Regions from separate parts of the Homo sapiens genome. Here all the other regions are linked to region 3. Evidence: promoter capture Hi-C in 16 types of primary human blood cells and fetal thymus (Javierre and others, 2016). All regions are on one chromosome and are shown on one strand. The core of a region is centred on a gene start or on the middle of the fragment in contact, and the rest is flanking DNA. Distances in the headings are between cores, read along the strand shown.

Region 1 (2,700 bases), core at 102-2,601, 260 kb after region 3:
TAGCATACTTACTGCAGAACTTGTAGCTTGATAGCCCAATGTGTTCTTGGGTTATGATTCTGAAATACTGCTGAGCTTTAAAAACTTTAGCAGCTTTGACCAGAACACCTACGTTAAAATTTCTTTATAACTCTTCAGAATTTTTTTCTTTTTCTTTTTTTTTTTGAGACAGGGTTTTGCTCTATCACCTAGGCTGGAGAGTGAAGTGGCATAATCATGGCTCACTGGAGCCTCTACCTTCCAGGCTCAAGCAATGCTCCTACCTCAGCCTCCACAGTAGCTGGGGCCACAGATGTGCACCACTGCACTTGGCTAATCCTTAAATTTTTTTGTAGAGATGGGGTCTCACCATGTTGCCCAGGCTGCTGTCAAACTCCTGGGCTTAATCAGTCCTCCCACCTCAGCCTCCCAAAGTGCTGACATTACAGACGCGAGCCACTGTGCCTGGCCAGTCTTCAGATTTGTTAACAAATCTCAGGGGTTTGCTTTAGTCTCCCAAGCTCGCCTTACGTAAATGTGTCATGTAATGAAAGATGATATTCCCAACCCACCATCTCACATATTCAGTTGATTTTCACTAACCGTGAAGGATTTGCACTGATTTATGCATCCAATTCTCTCCTGATTTCTTTACTTTTCCTCCTCTTTTCTCTTTCCTCACCAGTCTTCCGTTTCCATCTAATGACTAGTGTCCCACATTGGACAAGATAAAATGGTTGACCAGTTAGAGACATAGGAAAAAGTGGAATATTGAATTTGCATTGAAAGGGCTGAACTTGTGACCTTATGTTATCTTCCATATAATTCTAATTTCTACAATATAAGGTTTTAATTTACTCAGTTCAGAAAATCTAATTGTTTGACAGTAAAGTTTGGACCTATTTATATAAAGTTTGGAGGAAATATGATCTTATCAATATGCACTATGGAAAATGTCCTTTTTAGTCTGTGAATTTAGAGCTATACCTACTGCTTGAATGAAGATGGTCTAAAGATTTAAAAGACATTTAGGGTTAATAAGTTTTCATGGCAAAACATTTAACATTTTTAAACTAAATTCAGATGAGTTACTCATTTTTTGTGTACCTTAATTCCTTCCAAATACTCTTCTGTCAGAACTACAAAGTTAAATCTCAATTATAGTGCCCTTTTTTTTATTTAGGGAAATAATTATCATCATTGATTAATACATTGTACAAGGGTTAACTGTCTTTTAACCATCAGGGTATAGAAAAAGTAAGTTGGTTAAAACAACTTTTAAGTTTATTATGGAGATAAACACTATTGTCATATGATTCTTTAGATTTCCTTAAAAATTGATCTCCTATGCCAGGCACAGTAGCTCATGCCTGTACCCTAGTACTTTAGGAGGCTGAGGTGGGAGGATCACTTGAGACCAGCAGTTCCAGATCAATCTTGGCAATACAGTGAGATCGTGTCTCTACTAAAAAAAAGCCAAAAAGAAAAAAAAAAAACCTAGTTGGGCATGGTGATGTATGCTTCTGGTCCCACTTACTCAGGAGGCTGAGGTGGGAGGATGATGTGAGCCCAGGAGGTTGAGGCTGCAGTAAGCTGTGATCATTACACTGTAGTCTAGCCTGGGTGACAGAGTGAGACCCTGTCTCACAGTAAATAAATAAATAAAAATTTAAGCCTTGCTTCTAAATCCAGTCTCCTTTAATTAAGTTTTATTGCCACATTCTTTCTGCTTTTAATTTTTTGTTGTTGTTGTTAAAACTAAATTTTACAGCTTTTGTTTCTCACGTAGCAGCCAGGGTTTGAAAGAGATTAAGGGTCATTCTTCTGAAATAAAACATGTCCTGAATAATTTTAATTTGAGTCTACTATTGAAAGTCACATAACATTTTGTTGAATGGTGATTCTTACCTAATCACCTGTAAATGGATCACAGACACAAATACCTAGTGATGTGCTATACATTATGCCATTGTGAATTTTATAAAGGCTAAAGAGTGAGGAAGTAGAGTTCTTCTTTTCTGATAGTGCACTACAAAATTTTGAGGACCTTGCAGTGATCATCTGTAGTCATAAAAGCTGTTTAGCCAAAACATGATTGGATTTTATTAATAGTGTTACGGCTATCTTTTCATGAGTTAGTTACCATGTGAATTAGTGCAATTTTGGTGAATAGAAGAATGCTTAGGACTATTGTCTTATTTTAAATTACCGATTATCTTTTTATAAGGATATTTGAGGAGTTCATGTGTCAGTGAGAATTGAGCAACTGAGAAGAAGTTAGAGGTTAGTTCCCTTTTCCAAGTATGATGGATTAACCACATGCACCCCGTCTTTCTCACTGAATGCATCTATAAAACCTAGGCAAAATGGATGGAACTCTTCTGGACTCTGCAGAATAAATAATACCAGGTGGGATATGAATGAAGACTAGCATTCAGAATACCATCTCACTGGCTGTGAGTTTACCATTTTTTTTTTCTTCCAGCATCCCCAGACAACTTAACACAATCTAAAACCTAAAAGTGGGGCAATCTGAAACAGAAAGCTCTAAAAGACGCCTGCTACTTCTGGCTCAAGGAACAGGAAAGATAACTGCTAAGTTCAGAATGAAAATTTTGTCATTTTTTTTGTCTTCTCCATCTCTCATGCCCTATTCCCAAGCAACCGTGTGGTAATGGCAGCAGAGACTACAGCAGGAGCCCATGGTCAAAACTGAGGGAT
Region 2 (2,813 bases), core at 133-2,632, 260 kb before region 3:
AACATTATCCTGCTACCTTATCATTTATTGATTTATTGAGTGCCTCTTACGTGCCAATCACTTCACATGTAATTGTCTTTACTTAGTAAAACAACCCCATTCACTTTATAGATGAAGAAAACAAGATTCAAAGGAAAGAATTAACTAGGCAAGCTCGTAGAAAGGGGTAATCATGGGACAGAGATTTGTACGAAGTCTGTCTCCTAGCTCATTTTTCATGAATCCAGCATTTTTCAAACTATGGATCACAAACAGTATTTAAAAAGAAATGGAATAGAATAGCCCAGAAAATATAGAGTGCATCAAATCTAGTTAACTAGGTATTGTTTTGTGACACTTTTTAGTTCTAGATAGATGATTGATTGACCTATCAATAGATAGATAGAATGTATATATTGGGTCACGATGTAAAATATGTATCTTACTAAGGGTGAAGGTCAGAAAGTTTTGAAAATGAGTTAGACCATATTGCCTCTCTTTCTCAATCTTAGGAAGATACCTCTTTGAATTATAGCAAAGTTCACATTTTAAGAATTTTTCCCACAATGTCAATGGCATCACTCCACTCCAAATAATTTTTTCAAAGAATCACTGAATCAGACATATTTGAAGTATTTTCAACTAATTGTACCAATCCTTCCAATAATTATAGAGTAGTAAACCAAAGTGATTCCTCATTTACTCTTTCCTAGGCAAACCCAGCTTTGTTTTATTAAAATTTGTATTACAATTAATTACTCTGACTGTAATAAAAGATATCATGTTAACAGTATCGTAGATGATATAACAATTTATACATAATGAAATGCGATGTGCTCATAGAATATTATACAATATATGTTCTACATAGTATTTATAGAACAATAATGACAATTACTAAATTGTATTAGGTATCCAGTACTTGCTGATTTGTGTCCATATCAGCAATAACAACGATATTTTGTTAGAAGCAGAGACTTCCTAATTTGGAAGTATGGGGAATGCTAGGGAAAACTGATGCAGGCATAAAGGCAGCATCTGGAGAGAAAGGAAACAACACTTTCAATACTAATTTTATAAGCAGGTAGTGCCAAGGAATCCAATTAGATCAACAGGTACATGTGACAGGAATCAAGGAAACAGATCCTTCCATCTGACCCATCCCACTGGAGATGGTGGGTAAACTTAATTAGTTTGCTTGGTCCTCTACTTGTTGATTTCTGTCCACATATCAATGAGGAGTTCAATATATAGAGTGAAAACCTAACCTATCATAGGTCTCTTGTTTTATAAGATATTGCTATGAGGATTACAGAATAACCTGAACAACAAGGTAATAGTGGCCTCTAAGGCAGCATTAGTCATAAAAGTAGCAAAAAAAAAAAAAAAAAAAAAAAAAAGAAAGAAAATGGGAAGAGTAAAAAAGTGAATAGCACCATAAGTGATGAGAGACATTCTTGCTTCCTATTTTTTTTATGCTTCTCTGGCTATTTCTCTACTAATGTATTCAGAGCAACAGTTACCAACTGTGTACCTCTCCACCATATAATTCTGTTCCTTAGGGTTTTTCTTTCCTTTCCTAGTAGATATACCTAAGAAATAGTCAAATAATAATTCACAAAACCTAATCCAGCCCCTTAGTTCTTTAGAATCTGTTATAGTAACTGGCATCTGGTGACCTGAACTGAGCTGATAAATTTGATCAAATCTATGACATCATCAATGATATGCACCATTATTTTATTCATCAGTAAAGAAGAAAACAATCCTACTAATTAAATTGTAGCAAATAATCTATTTAAAGATATCCCAATTTCAGAAAGGTTAAAATGCAAAAAAAAAAAGTCTTAGAATCTGTGAAAACATGGATTTTTTTTCTCTCTGGAAGTAAATTTTACTACAATGCATTTATCCTAATGCCGTGCCATCATGAGAGAGCATAAATGAGGAACTGCGATAATGGTAACTACAACAACCAAAGAGAAACCATTGCTAATCAGTCCCCACCAGCAGAATAAGATCCTAATTCCTACTCAAGTTATGTATATTTTTATCCCTCCTTGGCATCGACCAGGGCAATCGCCACACTCTGCATCAGTTAGCGTCCTCTGAGTTGCAAATGCTGGGATGGAATTGGATGGTCAAGAGGTTTATTTGGAGAAAGTCCTAAGAAAGCTAAAGAGGGAGGGGAAAAAGAGACCATAATATAGATCTAACTCATAAAAGCAGAGAGGAAAAGAAAAAGGAGCCTCAAGCAGCAGCACAATTCTGAGAGAGTTTCTACCAGGCTAATGGGAAGTCTCCAAGCAAAGACTTCCCATTAGATATGTCCCATGTTGTGTCAAAAGCCCTGGCTCTCATATCCTGGCATTGGCCAGGAGTACTTAGGGGATAGCATGGTCTCAGCATGGACGCAGCAGCAAATCTGAATGTGTAGCATCTGGAGGTTCAGGGAGGAGCACCTTCCTTGCAGCAGGTTCCCCTAAGGACAATTCTGAGCAGGGCACTTCCATGGCTGCCACACTGACATATGGCATACCACCATGCTTCCCACACTGATAGTGGCTCTCATTTCCTCTGATCTTCTCATACATCATATTTGTTATTATTGCTGCCTCACTGAGCTCTTCTCTAAAAATACTCTACATGCTAGATTTTCTGCCCACATCTTGGAATCAGACACATAGAATCCTTGAGGGATGGCATGGCCTGCAAGTACCACCTGGATTAGACATCACTCACACGGTCAAACTGCAATCCCTGTTTCCCAACATCCCACTTAAGGCAAAACACCTACTGCATCTCCTTCCCAGAGTTCGCCTGCTAAGTATGCA
Region 3 (2,813 bases), core at 213-2,712:
TTTCTTAAAATCTTTAAGTGAGCCTCCTTGCCTATTCTCATCTACCTCATTCCCACAAAAATGGTATATACTAGAGTTGAGCACCGGAGAAGGAGTCAGAAGACCTAAGGTTCTATTAATATAATTGGCCTTGGCTCTTCCTAGTCAGTGACCTCATTAAAGTCCTCTCCCTGAGGCTCTGTTTCCTCGCCTGCAAAATGATTCCAGCAACCCAGACCACTTCAAAAGGGGCTAAGAGATACAAATCAGGGGTTATCAATGAAAGGCACAAAAGCAAGACACAATTACAACAGTATTTGTAGTGATGTTAAAACATCAGAGGCACACAGCCCTAACAATGGTATAAGCAAACCAGTGCCTTCCCTGGTTAAGTTTCTGCGTGGAGACAGCTGGAGTTGGCACAGCAGTCCCCCAAAGCAGGACACCTTACAGATGCTAAGAGGCAGCTTTTGTGCTTTAAAACTGTCCTTCTAGCGTTCCATTTTATGTTTCATGGCACTAAAAAAGACAAATTCTGTCCAAACCTGAAAATAAAGCCAAATATTTAAGATGACAGATTTTTTTTTTTTTAACAAATCTTCGCAAACAAAGGCCTTTGGCCAAAGGTCTCCCGTGCTTGCAGAAGCGGGTTCACCTTGACGTTTTTCCTCTCCAGCAGATTTCTCCTTAAAAGCGTTAAAACTTGCGATAAGTTGGGAGGAATTCCTTCCATCGCTGGAGCAGGCTAAAACCTCAGAGTGAGATCATTCTTTCCGTCTCAGTAAGTGAACCTTGCAAAGCTCAGAAAATTTTGTCTCCAACTCCACGTTTCTCCTCAGGGCCCTTCTTCTGTAGACAATAACGGGAATTCTATGGCAGAGGAGGGGAGGTCTCTTTGACAAAAATGAGGGTGCAAACGTGGAACGACCGGTCATCTGGGCAAAATGAGGGGCCCTGTGCCTGCAAATCCCGAATCCCCTTTGGTCTCCTTTCCTACGACTGAAGAGACACGGGGGTGGGCTGTGGTGTGAGGACCATGGGTCTTGGCCAAACATCGGCACAAAATGTACCAAAGGGAGTTGCCTCCAGAGAGAAAAGCCAAAACCAGGCTGGGGACAAACAGGCGCACACGCCTGGGAGAGGAGGTGGCGGAGGAGCAGAAGGCGAAGGCCTGCGCGGCCCAGGCCTGCAGCAGCCGAGGCGGCTGCCGCGTCGCGCCGGGATACCTCCTCCCCCGCCTGGGCCGACGCAAGATGGCGGTCCGGCCGCCGCCGCGCAGCCGGTCTCCTCCCCCGCGCTCTGGGCGCTCCCGACGACCCGCGCCGGCCTCAAGACCCCCAGTCCAGCGCCCCCGGAGTGAGGCGGCGCAGGCCGCGCGGGAGGGCCTCTGCCTGCTGCAGCGCAGGGCGGGCGGGGGCGGGGGGGCGCTTACCGTGAGCGGAGCGGATCGGCCTGACTGGAGCCCTGAGGAGGAGGAGAAAGAGGAGGAGGAAAAGGAGGAGCACGAAAAACTACACTGCGGCGACGGCGGCGGCTCCCATTGCGGAGCTGGCAGCCGAGCCGTGGAAAGGGGGGGGCTCTCGTGCAGCCGGCGCGCTGCCTCATGGGTAGGCTCCGGGTCAGCCTCCCCGTGTCCGAGCTCCCTGTCTTCTCGCCGACGCGGGAGGCGGGCACCGGCATGTGCGCCGCGTCGCGGGCCCTCGAAGACCCACGCGCCCCGCCACGCGCCGGTCCGGGGCGAGGGCCAGGGCCCTGCCTCCATGTGGGTGCGAGCTGCTGGCTGGTGTGGCCGGGAGGCAGCCCCAAAATCCGGACTGCTCGGAATTTGCAGGCGAGGAGCCGTGCGTTCCGGGCCCTCCGCGTGTGTAACGACCCCCAGTCCGTTGGCTTGGAAAGTGAAAAGGTCATGGGATACAGCCGCCGTTCGAAAGAAGCAAGGGGCCTGTGGGTCGAAGACTAAACCAGGAGAGAAAAAGGAATCGTCCGTTTCTTTAAATAACGAGCTGATTTTACCAAGTCTGTTTTAAATGTGTGGTTTTGCTTGCGTTCCCTGTCGAGGTCAAATACGAAGAGACGAATCTGTACATTTAGCGTTTTATTTGGGACACAGGAATTGCAAGTTCAGGTTATTTACACATACAGGGTGGTCTTCAGTATGTCAGAAGAACAAAGAGGAGTTAGGGGGTTTTATTTTTTAAAAAAAGTTATCTATTGTTTTTCTAGAAAGTTCGTTGACATTTAGTAAAGTTTTGGGTAGCTGGTTAGTTCTGACTGGTGAGGGAAGGGGCTTGGTAAAGCTTGCCCTACAGCTGCAGCAGGTTCTTTGAGAAGCTAAAACCTGAAGATAAAACCTGTTTCAGGTTACAGCAGGCGGTTTCAGCAGCCAGGCTTGCTGAGAATTCCATTCTTAGAGCAATGTTATGTGCCCTGAGGGCTTCCCCCAGCACTGGCTTCTCCATTCTTTTAGTTGGCTATGACAAGAGTGACCCAATTAGAATGATTAACTTGCACACTCTAATTCCTAACTCTGCCATCTGCATATTAACCTGTAATAGCATTTTTTAAAGTTTGACAACGAGAAGTATAAGAAATTTACAAGAAGAACACTTGCCAAGATACTGCTTGCGTAAATACTTGCTAAAGGTTGTATTCTGATCTGTAAGGAAAGTTTCCTAAACTGATTGTCTTCTCAAGAGCAATGGCATTACTGGTGCAGCTTGTGAGTGACCAAGACTTGAAATCTTGCCTGTTAGGATCCATAACAGACACCCTGTTCAATCACTGAATCTTGCTAATTCATCTTCCTATTCGAATTCAGTTTCTTCTCTCTCATC
Region 4 (2,700 bases), core at 112-2,611, 350 kb after region 3:
CATAAACACTTATTTATATCCAGGCCTCATCCAGAACTTTCTGATGGCTTATGGGTTTTGGCCGATTCTTCTGGCTTTTGCCCACTTAGAGGGTGTAAGATTTCGGTAATTGGTGGGAAATCTTGTAGCTCTTTGAATACCAGAAACCCGTGGATACTTGTTCAATCCGGTTAGATAAGCTAGTTTCTTACCACCTTTCTTTCTGATAGTTACCCTGAGGTCTATGGAGAAACTGATTGGACATTTATAATATCTAAAACTCAGCAGCATTTTAAAGATTTAGCAGCTAAAACCTCCTCCCCTCCCTTTGTCATTTGTTCAGCACCTGCTATGTATGTGGCAGGCATCATTCTGAGGATGTCATTGTTGGGGGAAAAAGAAAAAAAATAGGGTCCCTGTGCTCTCAGAATTTGTAAGACATAATCTCTAACTTGGATGATGATGATAATAATAATAATAATAATAATAATAATATAATGACTAGTGTTTATTATGTGCTTACTATGTGCCAGGAACTTTTCCAAGTGCTACATATATTTACTTATTTAATCCTTTTGTAACAACCTGTGAAGTGAACGCATTCTTATTACCATCATCTACATTTTACAGATAAGGAAACTGAGATAAGAAAGTTTAATATGCCCCATGCCACATAGCTTGTATGTACCAAAGATGGAATTACCTGCCAGTCTGGCTCCAAAAATTTCATGTTTATCCACTACACTATGCTGTGCAATTATAACACAAATTTAAATTATAAATTTAATTTAAATGGATAATTAAATAGGCAGTTTTAATAAGTAGGAGCCGTGCAATGATGGAGTGCTCACTGCTGTGGGAGCACAGAATAATCTCACGCAATTTGGTCTTGTTAGGGTCCAGGGAAAGCTTTCCTGAGAAAGTAATCTTTATTCAAAGAGCCTCTTTCCCTCCCTTTAAAAAAAAAAAAAAAAAAAAGGCCATTGAAAAGAATTGAAAAATTTTTTAATAGAATTTTAAAAACAGTGGTTTCTTTTTTTTAAACTGATTTTCATACAAAGAAATAACAACATAGGTTTGTAAAACTGTAAGTGTATTCTGAACTGGGAAAGATCCTCTGGTGATGATACTCTATAAATTGGATGAGATAAATTTTTTAAATGAGCCGTTTTAAAAATTAGCCAAAAGAAAAAATTCTTGTATTTTTGAGGTGAGAAACCAGATAAGAGTACTATTATATAAATAATACTAGGTGTGTTCTCTCCCTCTGTCTCCCTCTGTCTCTTCCCCTCTCTCTCCCTCTGTCTCCCTCTGTCTCCCTCTCTCTCCCTCTGTCTCCCTCTGTCTCCCTCTCTCTCCCTCTCCCTCTCCCTACCCCCCTGCTCACCTTGGATACAACAAAATATTTGATTGCCCACATTTTGGGAGGCCAAAATGGGAGGTTCACTTGAGCCCAGGAATTCAAGACTAGCCTGGACAACATAGGAGACCCCATCTCGACAAAAAATAAAAATATTGGCTGGTCGTGGTGGTGTGTGCCTGTAGTCCCAGTTACTCAGGAGGCTGAAGTGGGAGGATTGCTTGAGCCCAGCAGATTGAGGCTGCGTTGAGCTGTGATCATGCCACTGCACTCCAGCCTGAGCAACAGAGCAAGACCCTGTCTCAAAAAAAAAAAAAAAATTTATATATATATATATTTGATTATGTGCTGTTTAGTTTAAATATGGAAGCTGCTTTGATCACTTCAGGTCTGTTGTCATACTGTAGCAGGGGTTAACATTTCTAAGTTCCTGCATCAGGAAATGAACATAGAGAAAAGTATGAAATCTACTTTATAGACCACATTTTATAATATCAAAGCTTTTATGAAGTATTATGCATTCATAGATGGAATTATTTAAGATTTACCAACCAAATTTTAGACAGATTTTAAGTATAGAAATTAATGGTTTTTGTAATCTTGCCATGCATCAACTGATTTTATCAATTATTAATATCTTGAGTGCTTTCCATTTTTATAAGATGGGAACAGTGATTGTTTAGGTTGTATTTGGAAATATTTTGGTGTTCAATAGCATATTGTGGCTAAAAGGCTGGTGTAATAGATAATTCTGATAGTATTGCTCTGTCCTTCATAATGTATGTCATCTCATGTATTAAAAAATCTCGTTTATCTTAGTTGCTATTAACAGAATTCAAGATCTTAATTAGGAGTCCTGGGAGCCATGTTTGACCCCTTTTATTAGCATAGTAACTTTCTATCAATTTGAAATATGCAGCATGATCATTGTATATTTAATGATGTCACTGATTTACTTCCTTTATATTTTAAAATTGAAATAGCATTCATTTACTGGTCCCATTGGTTGATCCACTCGGGCTCCAACTTAACCATTGTTTGCTTGGTTTTTGTTCTTTTCTTGTCACTGCAACCACTCCCTTAGGCCATTTACCTTCAACCTATGTTCTCCAGCCTGTTGGAAGTTACTACATTATTTTGCTTTGTTCTCTGCTATTCTGTCAGCCCCGTGAGTGCTCTGGTTTATGACATTTTCCCCTTTTGCTCTATGAGCAGCCATGCTTGTTGCCTAACTCTATGTGGTATTTCAGAAGAAGTTTAAACTCCTAGTCAACTAACCTATTTCTTTCATTGGGGCTATATTTGACAGCTAAGCTACCTTCTACTTTTAAAACTACATGGATGATTACATACATACATAA
Region 5 (2,700 bases), core at 189-2,688, 480 kb after region 3:
AGGGGCATTTTATGTAGATTACCACCAGTTTTGTTGATGATTTACTGTTTTTGAAGAATGAGATTTTAATATCATATAATTATAGATACAGGCATAGAGTTTTGTTGTTGTTGTTTTTTTAAGTTTTTATATCTATGCTCAATTTAGGCAGTAGTGTATACCAAGTGACTACGGTTTGTATTGGCAGGGGAGGTCTTACCTACACATGTACGAGTTTTATATTTATGTTTTTTAGGAGAACAATGAAAAGTAGAAGCAAAAGCTTTTAATTAGTTACTCAACTCTCTTTACAAATTATGTTTCACATTCAGGTTTCATGTTTAACACTAAATCTTACTTAGGTGTTTAATAAACTGATTAGGTTTGTGCAAAAGTAACTGTGTTTTTTTCCATTAAAGAAATTTGATTATACTATTTGGCTTTTACAGTGAATTTCTTTTTTATCTGAATGTATGTTTATTCTCTTCAGATTATCATATAATTGCCTCTAAAATAAAGAACTGGTGTTAAAATATTAAAATTTTCATTGTGCTTTAATAACCAAGGTTGCTTAGTTGGGTTTACATTATGATGTTTGTTTTATCAAACAACATAGTAAGTACCCTCTCTGTTTTCTGCCCGGCATCAGGGAAATGGGCTTAACTGTCATAGGTGGATGTTTTTTAACCAATATAAGAAAGTTTTCTCAGATTGAAGCGATGATTATAAAAATGTTGAAGTATTGTCAGTGCTTTGTGGCTCCCCTCTTCTCCCTATTCCTCCTCAATTTCTATTGAAAAGTAAGTGTTATTTTTAATAATTAATAGAAAAAGAAAATTTTGATTCGATTTTGTTTGATTTTCCTTTTTTTTTGTTTTGAGAGTAGCCGATCTGTCAGTAGAGAAAGACTGTGTATGGAAGACTAAAATTTACTTGAATGGTTTTAAGGCATGCTATTGTTAATTGTGAATCAAAGCTTTTTACACAGTTCTCCAAGGATTGAAATGGGTCTTTGTGGTCTCTCAGGAGGGAGGAAGTTACAAACCACTCCGCAGACTGGCATTTTAATAGTCTGCTGTACAGCGATGTTCTTTTGCAGCTGCTGCTTAGCCTTTTCTATATCTGGAGAGTGTGGGGAGGTTTTATTGTTGTTCCAATACTATCAGCTTTTAAAACATTGTGAAGTTAGTTGCCCTTATTGTCTGATTTAGTTTCGTTACTATAATTTGATCAATATGTTAGTAAAAATGAGGTTGGGGGGATAGGGGGTCCCTTATAGTATATTCCTAGAATATTTCACAGAGGATTTCTGCTTCATGAAAGGTACCTTTAAAAAAAGTGATGTGCCCCCTTTTGCAGCTTGTGAGCTCTCCTCTGATTAATACAATCCCGTTAGAACCTACAAGGCATAGAGGGAAGGATAGTACAAAGAAGTTTTGATGAAGGGAAATGACACAAAAAGGGAAAGTTGCTATTCTGTTTTTCCAGGTTGTAATTACAGCAAACGATTGATTGGAAAACATTTAAATAGCAAAACGTGTCTGTGTAAGAGACACATGTTTTTGTAGACAACTTTTAAAACCTTTTGACTTCGAAGTATGAGTTAGAAATGTCTGTAAGACATTTATTCCCACACTTCTTATTTTTCCTTTCTGAGAAATGTGAGCATTAGCATAAAAATATGAATATACAAAGTATTAAGAACAATAATAAACTTAGAGGAAAGACTTATAGGAAACTGTTTAGTTTATTCTCTCATACTTTATATGAAAGATGTGTGAATTTTTTTTAAGAACAGTCCTATTGCAGGACATTATAAACTTTTGATTGGTGTTGTGTATGAAGAATTCAAGGAGCTTTATAACTGAAAATCTGTATTATTAAGTGTTTCCATTTTAAAAACAGGTAATTTAGTTTCAAGATAATCTATCTGATTTTTGGACTAAGCTTTTTAATAAAATGTGTTCCTTTCAGTTTTCCTCAACATAATTTTTGTAGCTTAAAGTATGGTTTGTTCTAGCTAGTTAAGAGGTATTTGCATGATGGTCTGCTTTCTCCAGGAAGTGATTTTGTACAAGATTTAACTGTCTAGATCCTTCTTGTTACACATGATTCAGTGTTTCCAATTCCTGATTACTTGATCATGTGTTTATCAAAGTTGAAGCAACTTTAGACCATGGCAGATGGTAACGCTGGAGGTGTAGCAAGCTAGGTTTCTCTGCCACAAGTGCTCTAATTTAATTAAAACTAAAAACAGATTAGCAGAAAATCTGTCAGTATGCCTTCCTTTTGTGTGTGTATATATGTATATATGAGACAAATCTAATAATTTCTTGGGTTATTTTTATTCAGGGCATATTTATTTAGCGCTTAAAAGTGACTTGCATTTTTTTAATACCTCAAATTTTGTCTTATTGGTATCCTCCACCAATGCAAGGACTTGATGGAAATTGAAAGAGGTTACTTACAGCATAAACCCTCCCTCTGTGCTCTGTGAGTTGGTTCAGTCCTATTTTGCATAAGTTCCTTTTGAGTAGATCCATGTGTGAATGCATAGTACTGAAGACTTACTCCCTTTGCCTGTGTGGATATATGTCTTGGAGAGAGGCTGTGTGCATTAGCTACAAATAGTAACATTTTCAAAATCAACATGTATTGTGCTTATCCTGTCCCTGGAATGGGCAGCAATTCTTTGATGTATTACTACAATGGGAAAACGGT
Region 6 (2,700 bases), core at 29-2,528, 390 kb after region 3:
GTATGAACCACCATGACTGGCTAATGGTGGTTTTGTTTTTTTGTTTGTTTGTTTGTTTTTTTGTTTTTTTGGCAGCAGGTCGGTGGGTGGGCAGTGTTTGTAGAGACAGGGTCTCACATTGTGCCCAGGCTAGTCTCAAACTCCTGATGTGAAGCAATCCTCTCCGCTCAGCCTTCCAAACCGCTGGAATTATAGGCATGAGCCACCGTACCCGGTCCACAGCTTTTTTTTTTTAAGTATCTTCTTCATACTAGATACGATACTGTATGCTATTTTTGAGACTCCGTAGTCAAGTATAATTGTAAACCAGCTAGTAAAATTGAAGTTTCTTTTTTCATCCTTGTGTTATTTGGAAACAAAATTAAGAAATAGAGTCTCTTTTCTTCCTCCTACTTTATTCAACAGCCCTCACTCCATATGGATACTGTATACTTTGGATTTTAGAATATTTTAACTCTTAAAGGAATGGGCAGTGGAATCACAATATCACTGATTTAGCAGATCCTTGGTAAATATTCGTCATGTGATCCTGTGGCAATCCTAAATAGGAATTCACCTCTTTCTCTTAAGCTTTCCCATAGTACTTTATATCTCTTTAAAAAAATCAGTTGTTTACATTACTACATTGAAAGTTTTTTGGACCACCAACCTTGTTTCTGTCTCAGAACCTTAGCTAAATGCAGGGTATTCAAATATCCCATCCTTATTTCCTGTCATTTCTTGTCATGAGTCTTAGGTCCTACTACTATTTACCTGCTTATAATTACACATTTAGTTTGAAGTGTTTTATGTTTGCATGCTTTTCTTTCACATTATTCCCCCTAACTGAAATGCCCTTCATACATTTTTTTGCCTAATTAAATCTGTCAGTTCATTTATCAGTACTTACTGCATTTCTGCCATTTGCTAGATACTGCGTTGACTACTCGGATGTACATTGGTAATGGAAGCATTTATGACTTTGCCGTCCTGGAGTTTTCAACCCATGCTTGTCTTTTCTAGAAAGCCTTGCCTAAACTCCCAACTTGGATTCAGTGCTCCCTTGCTGTTTTGTCTGTGGCTCCCTGTATATGTTATGCTGAAATTTGCTGTTTGTGTACACTTGCTTTTAGGTTGGAGTTTTCTTGAAGATAGGATGTCTTGATTCATTTCTTCCCTTGGCCCTATCCAATATCTGATATATATCAAGTGCTCAATAATTGTTTGTTGAACTGCTTTTAAACTGTAGATAGATTACATGATCCCTGCCATTGATGAGCTCTCAGGACTTACAGTTCTGTGTATGTTTTGGCTTTTGTTATAGTTGTTTGAATGCATATCTGTCTCTCCTGTTAGGTTGCCAGCTTCTTGAAGAATAAAATTTTATCAGCATATTTTATTTATATTATATGGACAATTATATTTCTATATTTTTTTGCTATGCCCCACCATATCTAATTTTACATATGGGACCTGTAAGATTTTGATCCTTCTCCTAAAATGTTTTTGGTAAATGCTGATCTCCTGTGAGAGCCACCTGAGTGAGGAATCTCAGTGTGTAGGAAAGTGAGACATTCTTTAATGAGAGACTGGAAGAGTTTGGTTGTTAAGTGGGCTCAGAAAATGTCTGTTGTGGCAAGCCTGTGGCCCCATCTACTCAGGATACTGAGGTTGGAGGATCACTTGGACCCAGGAGATTGAGGCTATAGTGAGCCATGATTGCACCTCTGCACTCTAGCCTGGGTGAAAAAGTGAGACTGTCTAAAAAAAAGAAAAGAAAGGAAAGGAAAATGCCTGTTGTCTCTCCTCTGCAAATGAGCTGATACTGAAAGGTAATCTGGAACAGGAGTTTTATGGATATCTGTTTTTGAAACTGAAAGAAGTAGCATTTTGGCATGATCTGGAGCTGACATACATTCCAGAGGCTATATAGATGATGACATCTACCAGTGAGGCTACATGACTGACGTAGAAACTGAGGTTCTTTCGCTAGTCTAGGACAAAGATGAAGCTTAACTTCGCTGATGGATAGAACCAGACTTTGTCACTGTTTAAATAATACATTTTTGGTTGTTTTCTAAATATGAATTCGGTTCACTCTGAAATTAGAGCAGTTCCATGAGTTCACTGAATTTATTTGAACAATAGTGTTTGCCATGGTTTGAATGATGGTATCTGCTCCAAAATTCATGTTGAAATTTAACCCTCAATGCAACAGTGTTAAAAGGTGTAGTTGGCCTGTGGGAGGTTATTAAATTATGACAGAGCTTCACTATCATAAATAGGATTAACGCCTTATGAAGTGGCTCAAGGTCGAAAGGCGCACCTTCTTGCCCTTCCACTCTTCTACCCTGTGAGGACACAGCGTTTATCTCTTGCCCTTCTGCCATTTGAAGATACAGTATTGCTCCCCTCAGAGGAGGCAGCAATAAAGTGCCATGTTGGAAGCAGAGAGCAACCCATATCAGATGCCAGTCCTGCTAGCCCCTTAATCTTAGACTTCTCAGTCTCTAGAACCATGAGAAATAAATTTGTATTGTTTGTAAATTACCGATTCTATGGAATTTTTGTTACAGCAGCACAAATGGTCTGACAGTGTTCTTCTTTAAAAAGGAATAATGTTCATGGATACAGCTCTATTGTTCCTGGAATTCTTGGGGAAGATTCTTTGGAGTTTTGTGGAGTTATATATAACTTACTAGGTTGTCCTTGCCATATTTT
Region 7 (2,757 bases), core at 253-2,752, 420 kb after region 3:
TCATTTCTGGATCACTTCTTCCATTCTCAGTACTAACAATGTAACTATATATTCAGTTATTAAGCTTATTACTTCTAGAAAGTTTAATTCCAGTAAGCATGGTATTTGTTTAACATCAGTGTAATAGTTATCTAACCCTTTAGAGCTATCTTTATATTTATTTCCTTAGTTGTAAGATATCTTTTGGGAACTCTAAACCTATATCCTATTAAACAACTACTTCTGATCCCCAAATAGTTTGTTTTTTAAATTAATCCTGCTTATCTGCTATAATCTTTCATTGAAATATTTTAAAGCATTTTATACTTTTTTTAAAGCTTTACCCAAAATAAACTCTTACCATAAAAGCACTAAGTGAGATCTTTGCATGTTCTAGGGAAAAAAAACAGAAAGTATAAAATAAAAAACCTATAAAGGTGCAGTTAAATCCTTGTGCATATTTTATAAAATTATGAATGGAAAGAGACAGTCACAGGAACAGAAAATGCAAAGGAGTTTTGGGTTCAGTTATCACATATGTGATAATAGCAAAATACAAATATGGAAAATGATAGTAAAATGTAGATAAAGTGACAATACAAATTAAAGCAGAGTTCCTAAACTTTATAATAGGAAAAGGGGAAATTGTGAGTTATAATGGTTTTACCAAAGGTTACTGGCCAAGTTTCATTATCTCTGCAAGGGAAACTAGACTTTTTTTTTTTTTTTTTAAACAAAGTCTTGCTCTTCTGCCCAGGCTGGAGTGCAGTGGTGTGGTCATAGCTCATTTCAGCCTCCAAATCCTGGACTCAACAATCCTCTCACCTCAGCCTTCGAATAGCTGGGAGTACAGGTGCACGTCACCATGCCCTGCTAATTTTTTTTTATTATTATTTGTAGAGACACGATCGCACTATGTTGCCCAGGCTGGTGTCAAACTCCTGGGCTCAAGCCATCCTCCCACCTTGGCCTTCCAAAGTGCTGGGATTACAGGTGTGAGCCACTTTACCAGGTCGATTTTTGTTAACAGTATAATAAAAAGAAAGAAAGAAAGAAAGGCTAGAGTGGGGTTATTTTAGATAGTTTAGTCAGAGAACCCTTCTCTGAGGAAATAATATTTGAATAAATGCAAATGCACCTGTAGTCCCAGCTGTTTGAAGGCTGAACCCAGGGTTTGGAGGCTGGAATGAGCTATGATCACACCACTGCACTCCAGCCTGGGCAGCAGAGGAAGACTTTGTTTAAAAAAAAAAAAAAATTGTCTAGTTTCCCTCACAGACTTAATGCTGTGACAAAAGAACAATTCATACAGAGGGGCTAACAAGCCAAACCAGCAGCCTTCAGTGGGAGGGAACTTGGAAAGTTGGAATGTTCAAGGAAAATGACAAAATACAAGTTTACAAAAATTGTTTTTTCAAAAAATGCTCAAATGGCCAGGCACAGTGGCTCATGCCTGTATTCCCAACACTTGGGAGGCTGAGGTGGGTGGATCACTTGAGTCTAGGAGTTCGAGACCAGCCTGGGTGACGTGGCAAAAAAAAAAAAAAAAAATACAAAATTTAGCTGGGCATGGTGGTGTGCACCTGTGGTCCCAGCTACTCAGGAGGTTGAGGTGAGAGGATAGCTTGAGCCTGGAGGTAGAGGTTGCAGTGAGCCAGGACTGTGCCACTGCACTGCAGCCTGGTTAACAGAATGAGACCTCATCTCAACAACAACAGAAAGCTCAAATGTACTTACAAGCATTATAACTAACAACAACGTGACCAGTTTTCCCACGTGAGACGGGTCTAGGTGTAGTCTTAAATCTATGTTTACATTGCCAGGATATACAAATCCCTCGGAGAAAGAACAGGAGTGCTTTAAGATTTTTCAGTATAAATTTTACTGTTAGTTAGCATATAGTTTGTCAAAATATTTTAATGAAATCAGTGACTTTTTAAATTGAATATAAAAGTGTCAAAATAAATGTAAATATGACGTAGCTTGCATAGTGAGAGACAGACCTCTAAGAAGCAGTAAAATTTAATAATAGCAATTTTCACCAGTGTTTTTCATGCCCTGTGGTTATCTGTAGCATATATTTAGAGTATATGTATGTGGGCAAGGGTTGGGGCCAGGAATTAAAGACCTACACAACAAAATACATGATACTGAATTTGGAGAACTGGTCACAACATGCCAAAGAAAATAGAAGAGAACTAGGAACTGGACATTGTATTTCATAACTGAAATGATGAGAAAGAACTGGAAAATTGCCAGCCTTTTAACCTTTTAGAAATAGCTATGTGTGTAGTTAGTACAGGAGATCATTTTCTTAGAGCAGTTTGTTCTAAATTCAAATATGTCAGCAGACTTAGTGGAATTCAAAGTATTTTAGAAATAAAACATCTAATGTTGGAAATAAGAGAGCACAATATCATAAAAACAGAGGTAGTTTAACAAAGTTTTTAGATTGTCCAAGAGTTTATCAAACCCATTATCTATTATGGTAAAGTCTCGCTGAGTAGGATGTTTTTAACTTAGGCTACTCCAAAAAGTAAAGATAGTAGCAAATGTAGATCCAACTTTTCAGGTTATCTTCTACCTCATGCACTACTCTAAGCAGTCTTTGTTTGTTGGAAAGTCTGATTATTTACAGAAGTCAAGTTTTGTTATGTTCTATCTTTTTCTGATCTGTAAAAATGGGTTTGCTAGAGAAAGACTAGGAGAAAGCTTTTTTATTTTTTTCCTTTAAAGGGGGTGTGTGAAAGGGTTTCTAAGAGGTATAAAAACCTTAGG

What was found. The method cuts DNA at HindIII sites, captures the fragments that hold promoters and counts their contacts. A CHiCAGO score of 5 or more calls a contact.
Region 1: a contact is called between a fragment that was not itself captured here and the fragment with the promoter of ZNF280D in region 3, in 1 of 17 cell types (fetal thymus). The highest score is 5.2, in fetal thymus.
Region 2: a fragment that was not itself captured here is called in contact with the fragment with the promoter of ZNF280D in region 3 in 1 of 17 cell types (fetal thymus); the score reaches 5.5 in fetal thymus.
Region 4: a contact is called between a fragment that was not itself captured here and the fragment with the promoter of ZNF280D in region 3, in 1 of 17 cell types (fetal thymus). The highest score is 5.7, in fetal thymus.
Region 5: a fragment that was not itself captured here is called in contact with the fragment with the promoter of ZNF280D in region 3 in 1 of 17 cell types (fetal thymus); the score reaches 7.6 in fetal thymus.
Region 6: a fragment that was not itself captured here is called in contact with the fragment with the promoter of ZNF280D in region 3 in 1 of 17 cell types (fetal thymus); the score reaches 6.2 in fetal thymus.
Region 7: a fragment that was not itself captured here is called in contact with the fragment with the promoter of ZNF280D in region 3 in 1 of 17 cell types (fetal thymus); the score reaches 5.3 in fetal thymus.

What each region holds. Positions count from the first base shown.
Region 1 is chr15:56,990,646-56,993,345 of GRCh38, forward strand. The region is part of intron 3 of TCF12 (transcription factor 12); the gene reads left to right. Among named protein-coding and RNA genes, the nearest start is that of TCF12, 73 kb to the left of the region's middle. The HindIII fragment of the contact is 3,108 bases long and covers 1-2,700 here.
Region 2 is chr15:56,469,934-56,472,746 of GRCh38, forward strand. No RefSeq gene overlaps it. Among named protein-coding and RNA genes, the nearest start is that of MNS1, 6.2 kb to the left of the region's middle. The HindIII fragment of the contact is 3,285 bases long and covers 1-2,813 here.
Region 3 is chr15:56,732,047-56,734,859 of GRCh38, forward strand. ZNF280D (zinc finger protein 280D) reads right to left here and starts at 1,463. Exons shown (of 22, transcript NM_017661.4): 1 at 1,412-1,463. RefSeq lists a silencer at 1,213-1,482. The HindIII fragment of the contact is 3,680 bases long and covers 1-2,274 here.
Region 4 is chr15:57,085,769-57,088,468 of GRCh38, forward strand. All of the region lies in intron 4 of TCF12 (transcription factor 12), which reads left to right. Among named protein-coding and RNA genes, the nearest start is that of TCF12, 170 kb to the left of the region's middle. The HindIII fragment of the contact is 951 bases long and covers 887-1,837 here.
Region 5 is chr15:57,216,893-57,219,592 of GRCh38, forward strand. The region is part of intron 8 of TCF12 (transcription factor 12); the gene reads left to right. Among named protein-coding and RNA genes, the nearest start is that of SNORD13D, 60 kb to the right of the region's middle. The HindIII fragment of the contact is 971 bases long and covers 954-1,924 here.
Region 6 is chr15:57,119,236-57,121,935 of GRCh38, forward strand. The region is part of intron 5 of TCF12 (transcription factor 12); the gene reads left to right. Among named protein-coding and RNA genes, the nearest start is that of SNORD13D, 160 kb to the right of the region's middle. The HindIII fragment of the contact is 1,420 bases long and covers 569-1,988 here.
Region 7 is chr15:57,147,190-57,149,946 of GRCh38, forward strand. The region is part of intron 5 of TCF12 (transcription factor 12); the gene reads left to right. Among named protein-coding and RNA genes, the nearest start is that of SNORD13D, 130 kb to the right of the region's middle. The HindIII fragment of the contact is 2,374 bases long and covers 316-2,689 here.